Linked DNA regions of Homo sapiens: region 1 is linked to region 2. The links are contacts of gene promoters, found by promoter capture Hi-C in blood cells and fetal thymus (Javierre and others, 2016). All regions are on one chromosome and are shown on one strand. Each heading gives the region's core, a stretch centred on a gene start or on the middle of the fragment in contact. The rest is flanking DNA. Distances are from core to core; before and after follow the strand shown. Region 1 has its middle 37 kb from the start of SOST. Region 2 holds the start of SOST (sclerostin).

Region 1 (3,878 bases), core at 122-2,621, 37 kb before region 2:
ACATGCTGATTGATGGCAGGTAGCCATTTGTGAGTGGAGGAAGATCTGTTGTAGGTGAGTATTGAAAGCTTTGCTGCAAGGTAGCTTCGTATGGTGTCTGGCCACCATCTTCAGCAATGTCAATTTTGTTATCAAAGGCATCCTCCTGACGGATGCTGGCGGAGTCAGTGAGTTGAGGTGGTTGTTGAACTGTGTTTCCCGTGATCCCTTGCATGAAAGAGAAAGAGAAATCCATTGTTCTGCTCCAGCATTCTTAACTTTCCCTTTCTCTCATCGGGCCTTCAGTTTGTCCCGTTCTAACCGCCCGGCCGTCTCAATGCGATCACAGGAGGGACACGGAGATCGAGGAGGGCCACAGCCGGACCAGGCCAGGCGTGCTGCGGCAGGAGGAAGGCTCCGGAGGTGGGGTGGGAAGGGGAGGCCGAGAGACGGGTGTCGCCGCGCCCCCGCTGCCGCCAGAGAGGAGCCTACGGCTGGCAGCCTGGCCTGGGCAGCAGGGTCCTCGGCGCTCGGCTGGGAAATCGCACGTCTCTCCGCGGTGACCTGTGCACAGCCCCTGGGCCTCCGCCTCCGTGCTGGCAGCCTCCGCCTCAGCGCACAAAGCCCCGTCACCCCGACTCTCGGGGCGCCGCCGCCGCCAAATCCTCAGCCCCTCCCTCATTGGCCGCGGCGTCTGCCGGGAAGTGCAGTCCCGGGTTTGGGGCGATGGAGCCCAGGAGGAAGCGGCGAGTCAGCGCGGCGGAAAGGGCGGAGGGGACGGAGGGGGCGGAGGGGACGAACCACGAACGCCCGCGGCCGCGAGGGTCTGGACGACAAAGGAGAGACTAGGCGAGAGGGCTTGTTGCTTTTTTTTTTTTTTTTTTTTTTTTTTTTTTTTTTGAGACGGAGTCTCGCTCTGTCACCCAGGCTGGAGTGCAATGGCGCGATCTCGGCTCGCTGCAACCTCCGCCTCCCGGGTTCAAGCGATTCTCCTGCTTCAGCCTCCGAGGAGCTGGGATTACGGGGGCGCGCCTCCACGCCCAGCTAATTCTTTGTACTTTTAGTAGAGATGGGGTTTCACCATGTTGGCCAGGCTGGTATCGAACTCCTGACCTCGCGATCCACCCGCCTTGGTGTTGCACTTTTATAACTCTTTTTACCTTCTCACCAAACTAGCATTTAGGAAAAAAAAAAAATCAACAAAAACAAAACAAAAAAACCAAAAACCTCTATCAGTCATTTACACGTTAGTTGGAAATAATTTAGACCAGTGTGGCTCTCCTTCGCAGAACACATTCAGTCCTCTGTGATTATTAGAAGCAAGGTTCACCTTTTGATCTTGGTTAAAGAAATTTCAGGCTAAATTTCTGGGGAGGAGATGTATTTCAGGTTCCAGGATCCCAGAATTGCTCTGCACAAGTCACAGCCATCCTTGTTCCCTGAAGTCTCTGTTGGCTGCACCATGTCTGCTGCTCCTTTATGAGTGGTTTTGGGAGAGGCCAGGCTGAGCTCTTACTAGCTCCTTGCAACAAAACAAGCGAATGTGAAAAGTCTTAAACACTCAGCTTTCTGGTCAGAGGAAATCCCAAAATCAGCATGACTCAGGATTTTAAGTGCCCCATAGAGTGTCCAAGAGAAGAAACCTAGGAGTCTAGGGTCTTTCAAAACCCCAAAGTTAAAACCTTTTATCACCCTTTCCTGACCTTCCTGGCTTAGGATTTTAGGCAGCCTCTTGGAGGCCTCCCTTGCCTGGGGCACACTTGGCCATAAACCCATTCATTCAGCCCTACTGATTTAGTGCCCATTATGTGCCAGGCAGAGGAAAAGTAGAAATGGTAGGATCTATCTTCAAGGGGCTCAAAGTCTGCAGGAAACAGGATCCGCTAACAAATTAGAGCACAAGGGTGTGCCGAGTGCTATAATAGCAGTGTGGGTTGCTGTTGAGAAAATACAGAGGAGGGTACCACCAGGGAGCTTCTATGAGTTGAGCTGAGCCTTGAAGGTTGAAGAGGCATTTCTCACATAGAGAAGACGAAATAGTGCCCTGATTGTATACTAGGAATGAAAACACCAAGTGCTTACCAAGCTCAGATAGGTAACGTAAATGAATGGAGTAGGTGAGTAAAGTAGCAGGGATTGTCAGCGGTGGTGGGGAAGTGGAAGGCCTGCATCCTGCCTACAGGGCTTCTGCTGGAAAGACAGCCTGGCCTGGATTCAGCCTCCATTTGCACCTTCTGCTAGGTGCTTTTGTGCAGTGCACAACTCACACAACCTCACATGGCTGCCCTGCCTGCCTAAGCTGGCCATCAGCTGCTTGTTGCCATACTGAAAAAGAGGGTTTGGTTTTGCCTCGCCTTGCTTTTTCAATAGAAGCCAGAAACTTGAATTTTTATGTAAAAATTTCCAATTTGTCAAATGCCATTGTAGCCAAACAAAAATCTAGCCTCAGGCTGGATCCACCATAGAGTTTCAGTTTGAGACCCCGATGGGAACCAGTCCCCTGGGCACATGCTGCTCTCTCTCCTCCATACCATGCAACACAGTCCTTTGCTGAGATTTGACAAGGGAAACACAGTCATAGATGAAACCCCCTACAGCTGCTGCAAAGCCCTTCAGAAACATGAGATTGGCCTCTGAACCAGAGGAAAGTAACGTGGGGCTGTACAACAGCAGCCAGCCTGTGAGACTGATGGATAAAGCTTTAATTTATCGGTGCACCTTGTTTGGAGAAAGCTTCCCTGCCCTCTTGGCTGCCCCCACCTCCAACCCCTCCTGTTTTGCTAATGATAAATGACAAGCAGTGGACATTTATTAATTAAACCACCCGCTGTAGCCATTGGTAAAACCCAAGGCCACATGCAGGGGAAGCATTCAAAGCATTCCTGCTGCCCCTGCCCAGGGCACAGGCCCCAGGGTTATCCTTTGCTGGAGAGAGCAGGCCACGGCGGCCACAGCCTCACATGATGGGCCTTCCTAGGATCTGTCTGGGTTCTGGCTGATAAATGGAAATCACCTCCATGGGCCACACAGTAATTAAACTCCTGGCATTCTTTTGACAAAAAAAAAGTTCCTCATGGGACATTCCCACAAGCTGCTGAAGGTCTGGGCCCTGCAAGCTCCCAGCTGATTACCAAGGAGTTTTCGAAGTTGGCCTTGACTGAGGATCAAAGGAGGATGGGAGTTCAGGGAATGAGGGTGGGGGTGGGAAATGCCTTAGAATTAAGTTGATGATGGCCTGTTGCGGTGGCTTATGCCTCTAATCTCAGTGCTTTGGGAGGCTGAGGCGGGAAAATCACTTGAGCCCAGGAGTTTGAGACCAGCATGGACAACATGGTGAGACCTTTTCTTAACAAAAAATTTAAAAATTAGCCTGGTGTGGTGGCACATGCCTGTGGTCCCATCTACACGAGGAGGCTGAGGTGCTAGGATTGCTTGAGTCCAGGAGGTTGAGGATGCAGTGAGCTGTGTTTGCACCACTGCACTTCAGCCTGGTGAAGGAGGAGACCCTGAGACAGAAGGAGACCCTGTCTCAAAAAAAAGTTGATCATTTGGATGTTCGGCCTGAAACACCCACATTTATTTCCCCAGGACCGAGATGGGCAGAGAGATAAAAGCAGGCCTTCAAGGCTCATTTATTTATATTTCTACTGTTTATTTGTTCCACTGATGTACCCCAAGTACCTAAAACAGAGCCTGGAACATAGTAGGTGCTCAGTAAATATTTGTTGACTGATTAGCTGGAGATGTGCTCATGTCTTTTTAACGAAAGCAGTAATCAGGAGAAATTCCTAATTAAGGTCCTAGAACCAGTGGCTTCTAATTGTTTGCTGCCACAGGATTGTAAACATGTTGAAGATGAGGCCAGTGTCTTATTCAATTGACTGTCCCCAGAAGCAGGC
Region 2 (4,060 bases), core at 381-2,880:
TGCGGCTTTTCGAGAATAGCGCCCCTAGGCCAGGCACTTCCTCTGCAGATCATGACTTTGTTTTGAGCATGTGGCTTCCTCAGGGGCTGTGGCCTCTCGTGGGAGTCCAGCAAGGTGGACATTTTGTGTTTGGGTTCCTTACAGCCCTTCAGGCAGTCGCTGGAGCCCAGCTGACCTTGCCTAGAAGGGGAGCTGTGGGGGGAGGCGCCCTTGTCCTCCATTTTGAAGACGGAGGGTCCTGGCTGGCCTCCCATGCAGTTGCCCTTTTTAGCACCCCATAGTCCCAACAGGTTGTGAGGCGGGGAGGGCTGGGGTCCAGGAGCCTGGGCAGTGGACTTCTCTGCCACCTGGATAATGGCCAGAGGACAGGGAAGCTCTTAGTCTGAAGTGTCATTTCAGACGCCCCCATGGCCTCAGGATTCCTGCCAATTATAGAGCCAGATGCACACTGTCACCTGGGCTTCTCTGTGCAGGCCTGACCAGGAACCCAGGGTTCCTCTTCCTTCTCCCTCCCCTGGAATGAGGCAAGGTTGGGACTGGGGTGGCTGCTGAGGACAGATGTCCCTACTCCTGCACAGAGGATGCTGCTCTCCCCTCCAGGGCCTGGACTCAGCTGCACCCATGTCAGGGGCTAAAACTGTGCCGAAAACTCCCATTCCTTCAAGTGCCAGCTCCCTGGGCAGGCCGTGGGCAATGCACACTGCAGGGGTGCCTCTCTGGCCTTCCTCCCCACTGCTTTGTGGAGATCTGTCCCCCACACCCCCCCACACACCAGGGCTATCTTGCAGTTGGATCAAACCAGGTTCACACCTCAGCTCTTCTCACTACCAAGTTACTGAGTGCCTGGAACCTGTTTCTTCCCCTTCGAGCTGGGGGTTCACCTCCTGGGGATTCCATGATGTGGGTCTGTGTGGTGGGGACAGCCACCACCAGCATAGAGTGTCCGGTGCCCCACAGGTGCTGTTCTGTGGATGGGAGGCTCCCTTACCTTGTTCCCTTCCCAGTGGTACCAGCAGCTGGACGTGGCTCCTATATTCCCAGGAGGAGATTCTTTGAAACCTTTTCTTTTCTGAGCCCCTGAGCCTGTTCTGATGCCCTGATGCCATACCCTCACCACCCCAGCGTCCTCCCTGCCCTGGGCTCTCACCAGCGTCTGTTGCCTCATGCCTCTGCACCTGAATTTGAAGGCTGCACCAGCGAGCCATTCTTCCCCCACCTCCAGGCAAGACTGTTCCTCGACCAGTGCTGGCAGAGGCCAGCAATCTTCACTGGGTCTACCCCAGTCTTCCAAGCCTCCCAAAGAGAAGTTTCTAAAACCTCCCCAGGATCTTTTACTAAGAATTCTCTCCTCCACCCCATACCTTTGGTCTCAAAGGGGTGGTGGGGAGGCCGCCCTCCGTTCTCCGCCCGGTTCATGGTCTTGTTGTTCTCCAGCTCCGGTGGAGGCTCGGGGTACTCTCCGAGCTCGGGGATGATTTCCGTGGCATCATTCTTGAACGCCTGCCACCCCTGGCCCTCCACTACACGGAAGGCTGTGTGTACCAGCAGGCAGACGAGACACAGGGCCAGTGGGAGCTGCATGGTACCAGCCAGAGGAGGGCACGCCACCTTCCAGTAGCACAGGCTCTGGTCTCCAGCCGAGACACGGTCGCCTTTTTAAAGCCCCTCTCTGCTTCATGCCAGCCAATGAGGACAGGCTGGGGCAGGGCTGGTCCCATGTTTCCCTCAGCCCCGGAGGGAGGGAAAGGGGTGTGCTCAGAGCAAACCCTCCCCAAAGACTTCTCCTCTAGCTCAGCAAACTTCCAAATTGCTGCTGGCACTCCCAGGTGACCCAGAGAGAGGGGGCGTGTGAGGCAAGGCCCAAGCCTGCTCTCCGGCACCTCCCACGTGCTGGCGGCTGTGGTTTTCAGATATCAAAATGAGCTCCGGCTTTTAATTGTCTGTCTCCCTGGGCCCTCGGGCATTCTCAAAACAAACTGTGGACCCGCTCAACAAAGAAAATGTGCAGTTCTGAGTGCTTCGCGGGGCTGAGCCCGGCCTATTCCATTTCTCAGGCCAAGTTCATTTGTCACCCCACCAACAAATGGCCCAAGGCGTTTCTGTTTGACCCCCATAGACCCAGCCAGAGGCAAAAAGATGCTTTTAAAGAAATCCCATTGGTCCCAACTCCACAAGTCTCAGCATTCATTGTCCTAACCAAGAAAGCCTCTCTTGGTATTCTCTGGAAGGCAAGAGAGAGAACTAGAGGGTCAGAGCAAGGGTGCCCGCTTGGGAGAGAGGGCAGGATTCTGGTTACAAATCGAGGATGCGCTGGTCACTCAGGCTCCTGTGGTGGACAGCACAGAGGAAATCCCAGCTCATGCTCCTCAGGGATCCTGTGCACTGTGACAGGCACTTCTGAGCCAGGGCACTCACTGTGGCTCGCAGGGTGATGTGCTGAAGACAGTCATTTCCCCAACCAGTCTGTGTGTGTGAGAAGACAACACCAAATTCCTTTCCTTAGCAAAAGCCACAGCCAGCGTTTTTAGTGCTGACATTTTATTTTCTTGTCTTCCAGCTGGTTACATTTTTCAAAAACAGTTTTGAGTCCTGTATGGAAAGCTTCATTGGTGCACACCACAGGATGTGTTCCATGAAGCCATCCCAGGACCAAGTGGTCACAAAGAAGCTAAGAGAAAATGCTGCCTTGGCCCTGCATATAATGAGCCACACAGGGCCGGGGCGGGGGGCGGGGGGGCAGGTAGAGGCGTGGGGGAGAAGGATTCACACCTGAGGTGCAAGAAGAGAAAGGAAGGCCAGAGGAATCTTTCATTGAAGACAGATTGTTTGAGGACAAGCAGCTCCTGTGAAGAGGCTGCCCAGATCCTCTGGTATTTTAACTGGGCAATGAATCAGCATGCCCCACCTGCAGAGCCTCTGCAAGTCCTTTGCCACCTGCCTCAACTTGCAAGTCGCTGTGTCCATCTGCAGCCGACTGTCCTCCTTTCCATCATCCATCATCCGACACATGAATGCAGCTGCTCTGACAGTTTTACAAGCCAGACAGAAGCCCCCTCAGGAAGGGCCCTCTCTGATACCTGCTTCCTAAGTCAGTTTCCTTCAGGGCAGATGAAAACAGCTGTGGCCATTGTTGGGGGTGATCTATCTCTCCCAGCAGAGCCGGTAGTGTTGTGAGAAGCTGGCCCTCCGCGCCACCTCCCCTTGTCTATGACCCTCCAGCCTCCTTTTCCCTTGCTCTGGAATGTGGACTGTTAACCCTCTCATGACCAGACGACTGCCTTCTTGCAATGGACTTGGGAGAGAGCAGTTCTGATGCCTGGGTTCCTTGAGCAGGTAGGATGGATGCTTATAGCCCCACCTGCTGTTGGGAGCGGCTGGACCGTCTGCATTAAACAGAGGCAGTGGGATTCATCCCTGGAACGCGTCTGCCACCTGCTGGAGACAAAAGGAGGGGTGACTGCAGGATGGCAAGTCTCAGGACTGGACGTGATTTCCTTTCCTTTCCTTTCCTTATTTGGAAGTGAAGTAATATTAAAAGGAAAAAGAAGAATCCAGTGGACTTGAACCTCTAAATGATCCACACCCCTCTGAATGGCTCAGCGAGAACCTGCTGTGACATCTTCTGCTGTTTCATTTAATGTTAAGTCATTGACAGCTGTTTATTTTTACTCAGTCCACAAACTTGTCATTGTTCACAGTACTCCCTGGAATTAAACCCCCAGGGTTTTAGCTGATTCCTATTGTGAGTAGTTTAGGTTATTTCCAATTTTTTTTCCTATTTCCAGCAGGGTTGCTATGAACATCCTTGTACGGCTGAAATTTTTTTTTTTTTCTTTTTTTGGCAGATTCTCTCTGTGGCCCAGGCTGCAGTGCAGTGGCACAATCTTGGCTCACTGCAACCTCCACCTCCTGGGTTCAAGCAATTCTCCTGCCTCAGCCTCCCGAGTAGCTGGGATTACAGGAATGCACCACCACGCCCGGCCAATTTTGTATTTTTAGTAGAGACGGGGGTTTCTCCATGTTACTCAGGCTGGTCTCGAACTTCTGACCTCGGGTGATC

What was found. The method cuts DNA at HindIII sites, captures the fragments that hold promoters and counts their contacts. A CHiCAGO score of 5 or more calls a contact.
Region 1: a contact is called between a fragment that was not itself captured here and the fragment with the promoter of SOST in region 2, in 2 of 17 cell types (megakaryocytes and endothelial precursors). The highest score is 6.5, in megakaryocytes.

What each region holds. Positions count from the first base shown.
Region 1 is chr17:43,720,202-43,724,079 of GRCh38, forward strand. It overlaps the pseudogene WHSC1L2P. Among named protein-coding and RNA genes, the nearest start is that of SOST, 37 kb to the right of the region's middle. RefSeq lists silencers at 403-472, 503-612, 763-822. The HindIII fragment of the contact is 2,610 bases long and covers 67-2,676 here.
Region 2 is chr17:43,757,161-43,761,220 of GRCh38, forward strand. It overlaps SOST (sclerostin), which reads right to left and starts at 1,631. Exons shown (of 2, transcript NM_025237.3): 1 at 1,362-1,631. The coding sequence starts at 1,581. RefSeq lists a silencer at 3,281-3,575. The HindIII fragment of the contact is 6,420 bases long and covers 1-2,599 here.